Regions from separate parts of the Homo sapiens genome. Here all the other regions are linked to region 1. Evidence: promoter capture Hi-C in 16 types of primary human blood cells and fetal thymus (Javierre and others, 2016). All regions are on one chromosome and are shown on one strand. The core of a region is centred on a gene start or on the middle of the fragment in contact, and the rest is flanking DNA. Distances in the headings are between cores, read along the strand shown.

Region 1 (2,658 bases), core at 57-2,556:
CAAAAATTAGCCGGGCGTGCTGGTGTGCACTTGTAATCCCAACTACTTGAGATGCTCAGGCTGGAGGATTGCTTCAGCCCAGGAGGTCAAGGTTTCAGTGAGCCAAGATCATGCCACTGTACTCCAGCCAGGGTGACAGAGTGAGATCCTGTCTTGAAAGAAAGAAAACAAAGAAAAAGAAAAGGAAAGGAAGGAAAGAAGAAAAAGAAAAAAATGTGAATTGGTAGGAAAAGTCAAAGAGAAAATAGAATTTCAGTTAGCTGGAATTTGCACAGATAAGGAAGAAAGAGTATTCAGGAATCCACAGTGTGAATACAGGAGGACTCTAGTGGGAAAAGGGAGTAGATGACAATGAAACTTGAATAGGCAAGGGGAGGCCAGACTGAAAGGTCTTTTATTCCAGGCCCCAAACCAATGAAAAAGATCAGAAGGTTCCTGAGCCGGAAGTAGGAAGGCCAAAACCTTAGCAGTATGTAGGACAAAATGAGAGGGAATAAAGCAGATTTTCTTGTATTATCTTTAGGAAGCAGGGAAGGCAGAGATTTTATTATTATTTTTTTTAACTGTTGCATTCCTCCTAGCATCTAGCAGAGTGCCTTACACAAAGTAGGGACTCATATATCTATGAGTGCCCGCATAAATGAAGAAACGAAGCGTACTTACAATGCAAATATTAACAGGATAAGAAATATTTAGCCAAGTACCACCCCTTCTGACACAGCAGAATACTTACAAGGGATCTGGGCCATTCCAGATCACCATCTTTCTTTCTGAAATGATATCCCAATCACTAGGGCTCTGTTCAGACAGTGACCTTGTAAAGCCCGAGGAGCACCCTAGAGAAGGGAACACAGGAGGAGCAGGAAAGGGAACACGGGAGGACCAACGCCCAGATCTCAGCGTGGTCGCCAGAATGACCCATATTAGTCATTTGGGGTTGCAGAAGAGGGGATGCAAGCCCATTCCCAGGACGGCCTCCACCCGGCGGGGCAATGAAGGGAAATGACTGACGTAGGGGGCTCCAGCGCAGGGGCCGAAGGAGATGCGACACCAGGGAGAGGGGCCCCGGGCACAGGCAGCAAGGAAAGAGGTCAGCGGAGTCTGAGAGAGAAACGATGAAGAGGGGAGACGGGCGCCGGGAGGGGGGCCGCCGCATACAGTTCCCCCGACACTCGCATCCTGGAAGGCACCAGCCCCTCACGACCAACCTGCCAGACGCTGTGAGGAATCCCCGGGTCAGAATGACAAGCCTCCGCGACAGTACCCACCGAGCCAAAGCTCCTGGAGAGCGCGCTGGAGAGCGCATGCGCCAGACCGGGCGCTTCCTCCACGTGGCCTGGAGCGTCGCCGAAACTACAGTTCCCAGAATGCCGCACGAGCCCGCCCCCAGCGGGAGCTGTGGGGCAGAGGCGCTGCTGTGGTTGGTCAGTCCAGTAAGAAGCCAGCAGGGCTGGTGCTGGGGCTTCTTCTCCTGAAGGGGCTGCAAGAGGGAAGGCTTAGCCATGTCGTCCTTGATCAGAAGGGTGATCAGCACCGCGAAAGCCCCAGGGGCCATTGGACCCTACAGGTAACGTGGCTGGTGGAAGCTGTGTCGGACCCAGGGCGTGCGGGTTCGGGGATTCGGGGTTGGGGCCACTCCGGGCCGGAGCCCCAGCTAACACGCAAGGAAATTGAGCCTGGAAAGTAAGCAACGCGCCCGAAGACCCACAGAGAGTTGGGAGCCACGATGGGACCAGGAACCTGCACTCCATGGGACTTTGCTCGTTCTGGGGCTGCCTCGCTGCGGAGCACAGCCTGCCAGAAAGCTCTCCCCAGTTAGAAGCCTTCAGACCCTGTGTTTTGTTTTGGGGGAGGGGGTCGTTTTTGTTTTCTTGGTAACAGCTTTATTGAGATATAATTCACGTACCGTAAGATTCACCCCCTTTAACATGTACAATTCAGTGGTTTTGACCATACTCACAGAGTTGTGCAGCCATCACCACTTTCTTCAGAACATTTTCATCACCCCAAAAATAAATCCCATCCCCATTAGCATTCACTCCCCATTCTCCTCTCCCCCGGCCCCTGACAATCTACTTGCATCTTCATGGATTTGCTTGTTGTGGACATTTCCTATAAATTGAATCATAAAACATGCAGTCCTTTATGACCAACTTCTTTCATTAGCTTCATACTTGGTCTGCCTCTCTCCCAACTGAAAAGAGCCCCATCAACAGCTCCCTCCTTTAAACCTACTGCTGTGAGAAAAGGCACTGAGATGTGGCAGAACAGGAATTATTATAGAAAACTTGGAAATAAATAAAATGCAGTAGAAGTGAGAGGGCAAGTGGGGTAGGGAGTAAAGGAGAAAAAAGACAAATTGATTTTAACTTGGGGTGGAAGAGGAAAAAGAAGATTTAGGAAGGTTCCTTGTGAGAGGTAGTCCTTTGGTTTTGAAGGTTGGTTTTGTCATTTATAGTAGTGTTGTAAAGTTTGATTTTTAAATTAATTTATTAAGGATTTCAACAGGAAGTCATTGAGTGAAGGGCATGGAGGTAGAAGTCAGGTAGAGGGAATGGCTTGAGTGAGGGCATGGAGGTAGAAGAATGCATGGTATAAAGATTTTGGGGAGAAAGTTTTCATAATTCAAGTGCTACTTCTGTCTTTTTTGTTTGTTTG
Region 2 (2,658 bases), core at 45-2,544, 2.8 Mb after region 1:
AGAGAAAGGCGAAGGAGTGGAACTGGCAGCCCCACAAGGAAGTCGGGAAGCTGGTTGGCCCCTACCCGGTTCCTGGTTCTCTCCTGGAAATGGCTCCAACATTGTGCAAGCAAGTGGGTGTGCAATAGTTTTGAGCACGCATCTCTCTCTCTGTCTCTCTCTCTCTCTCTCTCGGATTTAATTAGAATTTCCGTTTTTTCCAACAAAGAGTTGGACGGGATACGTTCTAAGACTTTTACAAACTGTAAAATGATGAGCGAGGTAACATTCAAATATGCTCTTAACAGAACAGCTCAGTAATGGTTTCCTCCACATCAAAACGTGCCTATTGCTGCAGCAGACGCTTATGCAGAGTCTACATGCACTCTCACCGCAAAAATTCACACAGCCAGTAGTCGTGGCCGAGTGGTTAAGGCGATGGACTAGAAATCCATTGGGGTCTCCCCGCGCAGGTTCGAATCCTGCCGACTACGGGAATGTCAGCTTTTTGCCGTCAACACTTACTTTTTGTGTTTTAGAGCGTTCTGCTCAAACCTTCCACAGATTTCAGGAATTTACAAACGGCTGAAACACAACAGGGACCCAAACGGGAGAGGAGAGAATGAAGGGGCGAGAATGCGTGCTTGTGGTTACAACGTGGGCCCGGGAGGGGGAGACGGGAGGAACCACGCCAGACATGCTGAAAGGAAGAAACGCAAAGCATCGCGAGTCACACAGACACACTGCAGAGACAGCTCCGAACTCTGTCCCTGCATACGCCCGCCCCTCACGAACCCACCGCGTTCTCTGCCGCGAGCCCTCGTGGGCGCCGGGTTGCCACGGGAAGCGGTGCGCATGCGCGGGGACGCCTAACGGGGCAGGAGCCCGCCAGGTCCCCTCGTTACTCCTGGAAACCACCGGAGCCTTGGCGATTGGAGGGGAAAAGGCCAGGCGATTCAAGATGGCGGAGGACCTGGACGAGCTCTTGGATGAAGTCGAGTCCAAGTTTTGCACACCTGACCTTCTAAGACGGGGTATGGTCGAGCAGCCCAAAGGCTGCGGCGGCGGCACCCACAGTAGCGACCGGAACCAAGCCAAGGCGAAAGAGACGCTCAGGTTAACCGGGCGGGAGGGGTGGACTGTTCTGGTAAAGCCCTGCTCCAGGCCCTAGAGCTGCCCCTCCGCCGCCCAACCCAAAAGAAACGTGCCCGCGACCTCCAGCCCCTCCTTGCATCAGGGTTCAGACCCTCAGCGCCCTACCCTCCGCGGCAGCGCATTCGTCGACCCTCTTCGCGGATTCTGGCACCTCTTCACTCAGCGCAGACTCCGCCCCCCGGCATGCCCCAGAGGGCTGGCCCCCGCCCCGCCCCGCCCCGCCCCGCCCCGCCCCGCCCCGCCCGCAGAGCCCGCAGTCCGCGCCAGTCTCCTTCATCCTGTTTCTGGCTGCCAGCGCGTAGGAGGTTCTAGTCGGGGACCGGGATACCCCTCAGGCGCCCCGTTCTTAACCCCGAGAGGGCTGTGCTGACCTCGGCCGCATTTTGCCTCTGTGTGGCCAAGCGGTTCTCATCTCCCTGTGAGGTGCCCTGTTAGACAGCCTCATCCCATTGCCTCAGACCCCACTCCCCAGGTCAATCCTATTTGTCTTTAGCTCAGTTTTGTTGTTTTGTTTGTTTTTTGAGATGGAGTCTCGCTCTGTCGCCCAGGTTGGAGTGCAGTGGCACGATCGTAGCTCACTGCAGCCTCCAACTCCCGGGTTCAAAGATCCTCCCACCTCGGCCTACCCTAGCTGGGATTACAGGCACGAGCCTGTAATCTGGGATTACGTAAACTGGGATTACAGGCACGAGCCCGGTTAATTTGTATTTTTTGTAGAGACAGTCTCACTGTGTTGGCCAGGCTGGTCTTGAACTCCTGAGTTCAAGCTGTCCTCCCGCCTCTGCCTCCCCTAACTGCTAGGATTACAGTTGCGAGCCATCGCACCTGACTCAGTTTGTTTTATTTTTTTAACTCAGGGAGTTAAGATGAGATTAAATTCATTACAAAAGGGTTAATTATTGTGAACATTAAACCGTCTACCTTCCTTCTCTCCATGGCCCCCTAGTTAAGGGTGCCAGACATACATATGGAAATTTAAGGACATTTCTTAAGGTATTTTGGTTTTTTATCTAAAAACTACCTTTCAAATTTACCAGTCGTTTTTCCTCCATGTAATTATTAAATAATAGGATTTCCTTCACTTCCTCATTTCCCCCACAACCCCTCAAAAAAAAAAAACAAAATGTTTGCATAAGAATATTGACCTTCAGTAACTCTTGCTAGAATCTTTTGGAAATTGCCTCTTGCCTAGAATATTTTGGAAACGCTTGTGAAATTACACGGAGGCAACTTTGGATCAATCTAAGAACGTCATCTCCGTTAATTTTTTTGCTGCATCTTTGGTTTGGTTTTGGTTTTTTGGTGTGTGTATGTGTGATTTCCCAAAGTATTATCCAACTCTGTTACTATCCAGTTCACCTGGCTTACCTCCAGTGATATTTATTTATTTTATTTACTTATTTATTTATTTTTGAGTTTCGCTCTGTCGCCCAGGCTGGAGTGCAGTGGCCCACCTCAGCTCACTGCAAGCTCCGCCTCCCATTCCCCTGCCTCAGCCTCCCGAGTAGCTGAGACTACAGGCGC
Region 3 (2,658 bases), core at 77-2,576, 2.0 Mb before region 1:
GGATTTATCTGTTTAGGGAACTGTCATAAAGAAATACCATGTATTGAGACTCCCATATCTAAAAAGTTCAAGAAGGAATATACTAAAATTATAAAATTATGAAAGCTCAATTTCATTGCCAGCCTGGGCAATGTAGTGAGACTTCATCTCTACTAAAAATCAAAATAATCAGCCAGCATGGTGGTGTGTGCTTGCAGTCCCAGCTATTCAGGAAGCTGAGGTGAGAAGATTGTGTAAGCCTGGGAGATGGAGGCTGTAGTGAGCTATGATCATGCCACTGCACTCCAGTCTGGACAACAGAGGGAGACCCGGTCTTAAAAAAACAAAACAAAACAAAAATCTGAGCATGGAAGTATTTCATATAGCATGTAATAAATTTATAGAATTTAATATATGAAGATGGTGGTAAAAATGCAGGGTTTTTTTTAACAAAGTATTATGGACAATATTTTGAATGTCAAAGACAGACATAACTATTAATAAAGTTGGAATACATCTAATCTTTAAAATGCACATCAGGCTGGCCAACATGACATTCCACAACCATGGAATCCTTGAACAGAATAGCGTATAAGTGTGACCATTAATTCTACATCCCAAAGATCAAGGCTGAAGACTTAAACATTTATCCAATAATTCAGTGTAAACCAACGCTCCCCTCCCCAGCCCTTGACTCAGGGTGTTGCACTGTCCATCAGGCTGGAGTGCAGCAGCATGATTATGGCTCACTGCAGCCTCAAACTCTTGGGTTCAAGTGATCCTCCCATCTCAGCCTCCCGAGTCACTGCCTGTTCTTTTTATATCCTAAAAGCAGAACTGTTGACCTTAATGAGTGATTACACCTTGGAAACTGCACTTGGCTTAACAGCCTGCTTCATTCACTTTGCTTGGGGTTGATTTTGCCTTACAGAAAACAATTAAAGTTTCCCTTCATTATTCTGAGATTTAAAAGAGAACCAAGCATTATATGAAAATACAGAAAGGCCTATACCTAGTAATAAATGAAAAACTGAACTCAAGATGACATATGCATACTGACACCAAGCACAATGGTATACTTCATATCAAATGACACAGTGACACAGGACAGTGGTTTGCAATAAATTTATTTAATCAGAACTTCAGAGGGTTCTAGAAACCTGCATTTTTAACAAGGACTGCAGATGATTCTAGGTTTTGATTAAAAGTGTGGTTTGGGGAAGCAACTTTACCCTTTATTGTGTGTTAAATTACATATACAATAAAACAAAAAGTCACGTAATGGAACAAAAAATTGCTTTATACAAAATATTAGTAGATACCCAAATATAATATGGTCTTAAAAATAAAATCATATGTATATAGTTGTATTCCTAAGTACAGTAGTGCCCCCCTCATCCAAAGTTTCCCTTTCTGTGGTTTTGGTTACCTGTAGTCAACCACATTCTAAAATAGGTGAGTACTGTACAAGAAGATATTTTGAAAGCAAGAGAGACCAACCACATTCACATAACTTTTATTATAGTATGTTATCATTGTTCTATTACATTATTATTAATCTCTTGCTATGCTTAATTTATACATTATACTTTATCATAGGTATATATATATGGAAAAAACAGTGTATAAAGGTTTGGTACTGTTTGAGGTTTCAGGAGTTCACTGGGGGCCTTGGAATGTATCTCCCGAAGATAAGGGGGAACTACTGTAAGCAAAATCGAAAGCTATACAACAATCAGAAATGGGAAGAGAGCAAATCCAAGTATAAGTGAAGACATTCCTCTGAATTCCCAGCATTCATCGAGCATCAAAAACGACCACTGTATTAATTTGAGTTAAGGACAAAAACGGTACTTAAACATTATTAAGACTGAAGGTTTCAAAGTCACTTTCTCTTTGCAATAAGCTGGTTTGTTATTTAACTTAAAATGCAAAAAAGAATGGAATTCACTATTTACTATGACAACTGGTTTTTAAATAAACTAAAAACACTTTCAATTTTTATTACCACCTTTTCCATAAAATGTATCAAAAAACACTAAAGCAGGCCAGGCGCAGTGGCTCACGCCTGTAATCCCAGTACTTTGGGAGGCTGAGGTGGGCGGATCACGAGGTCAGGAGATCGAGACCATCCTGGCTAACATGGTGAAACCCCATCTTTACTAAAAAATAAAAAAAATTAGCCGGGCATGGTGGCGGGTGCCTGTAGTCCCAGCTACTCAGGAGGCTGAGGCAGGAGAATGCCATGAACCCGGAAGGCAGAGCTTGCAATGTGAGCCGAGATTGCGTCACTGCACACCAGCCTGGGTGACAGAGCGAGACTCCGTCTCAAAAAAAAACAAAAAACAAACAAAAAAAAACACTAAAGTAATGTTAAAGCGGATAATCCGTCGATTTACAATGTGTGTTAGTTGTATCATAACAATTTACTCTGTATTTTATTTTTCCACATGGGGGTCACACTATGTTGCCCAGGCTGGTCTTGAACTCCTGCAGCCTCCCAAAGTGCTGGGATTATAGGTGTGAGCAACCATGCTGGGCCTACTCTCAGTATTTGAACAATTTGTATGCCCAACTTTTTCCATTAGGTAGTATACACAATATTTGTATTTCTCCTCGTGAACTTTAGCTTGTCCATAAACTGAAGCTCAAGAATGAATACTTATATAAATGTAGTCA

What was found. The method cuts DNA at HindIII sites, captures the fragments that hold promoters and counts their contacts. A CHiCAGO score of 5 or more calls a contact.
Region 2: the fragment with the promoter of CFAP418-AS1 here is called in contact with the fragment with the promoter of POP1 in region 1 in 1 of 17 cell types (M0 macrophages); the score reaches 5.4 in M0 macrophages.
Region 3: a fragment that was not itself captured here is called in contact with the fragment with the promoter of POP1 in region 1 in 1 of 17 cell types (neutrophils); the score reaches 6.8 in neutrophils.

Annotation. Positions count from the first base shown.
Region 1 is chr8:98,115,941-98,118,598 of GRCh38, reverse strand. It overlaps POP1 (POP1 ribonuclease P/MRP subunit), which reads right to left and starts at 1,306. Exons shown (of 16, transcript NM_001145860.2): 1 at 1,209-1,306. RIDA (reactive intermediate imine deaminase A) reads left to right here and starts at 1,428. Exons shown (of 6, transcript NM_005836.3): 1 at 1,428-1,567. The coding sequence starts at 1,503. RefSeq lists enhancers at 1,034-1,203, 1,274-1,323. The HindIII fragment of the contact is 6,678 bases long and covers 1-2,658 here.
Region 2 is chr8:95,267,472-95,270,129 of GRCh38, reverse strand. It overlaps CFAP418-AS1 (CFAP418 antisense RNA 1), which reads right to left and starts at 1,294. Exons shown (of 4, transcript NR_038209.1): 1 at 1,240-1,294. CFAP418 (cilia and flagella associated protein 418) reads left to right here and starts at 929. Exons shown (of 6, transcript NM_177965.4): 1 at 929-1,095. The coding sequence starts at 941. It overlaps TRS-AGA2-5 (tRNA-Ser (anticodon AGA) 2-5), which reads left to right and starts at 392; the gene lies at 392-473. RefSeq lists enhancers at 188-267, 304-943, 898-1,337. The HindIII fragment of the contact is 4,678 bases long and covers 1-2,658 here.
Region 3 is chr8:100,152,435-100,155,092 of GRCh38, reverse strand. POLR2K (RNA polymerase II, I and III subunit K) reads right to left here. Exons shown (of 4, transcript NM_005034.4): 4 at 1,090-1,799. The coding sequence ends at 1,777. Among named protein-coding and RNA genes, the nearest start is that of POLR2K, 3.1 kb to the right of the region's middle. The HindIII fragment of the contact is 3,247 bases long and covers 1-2,658 here.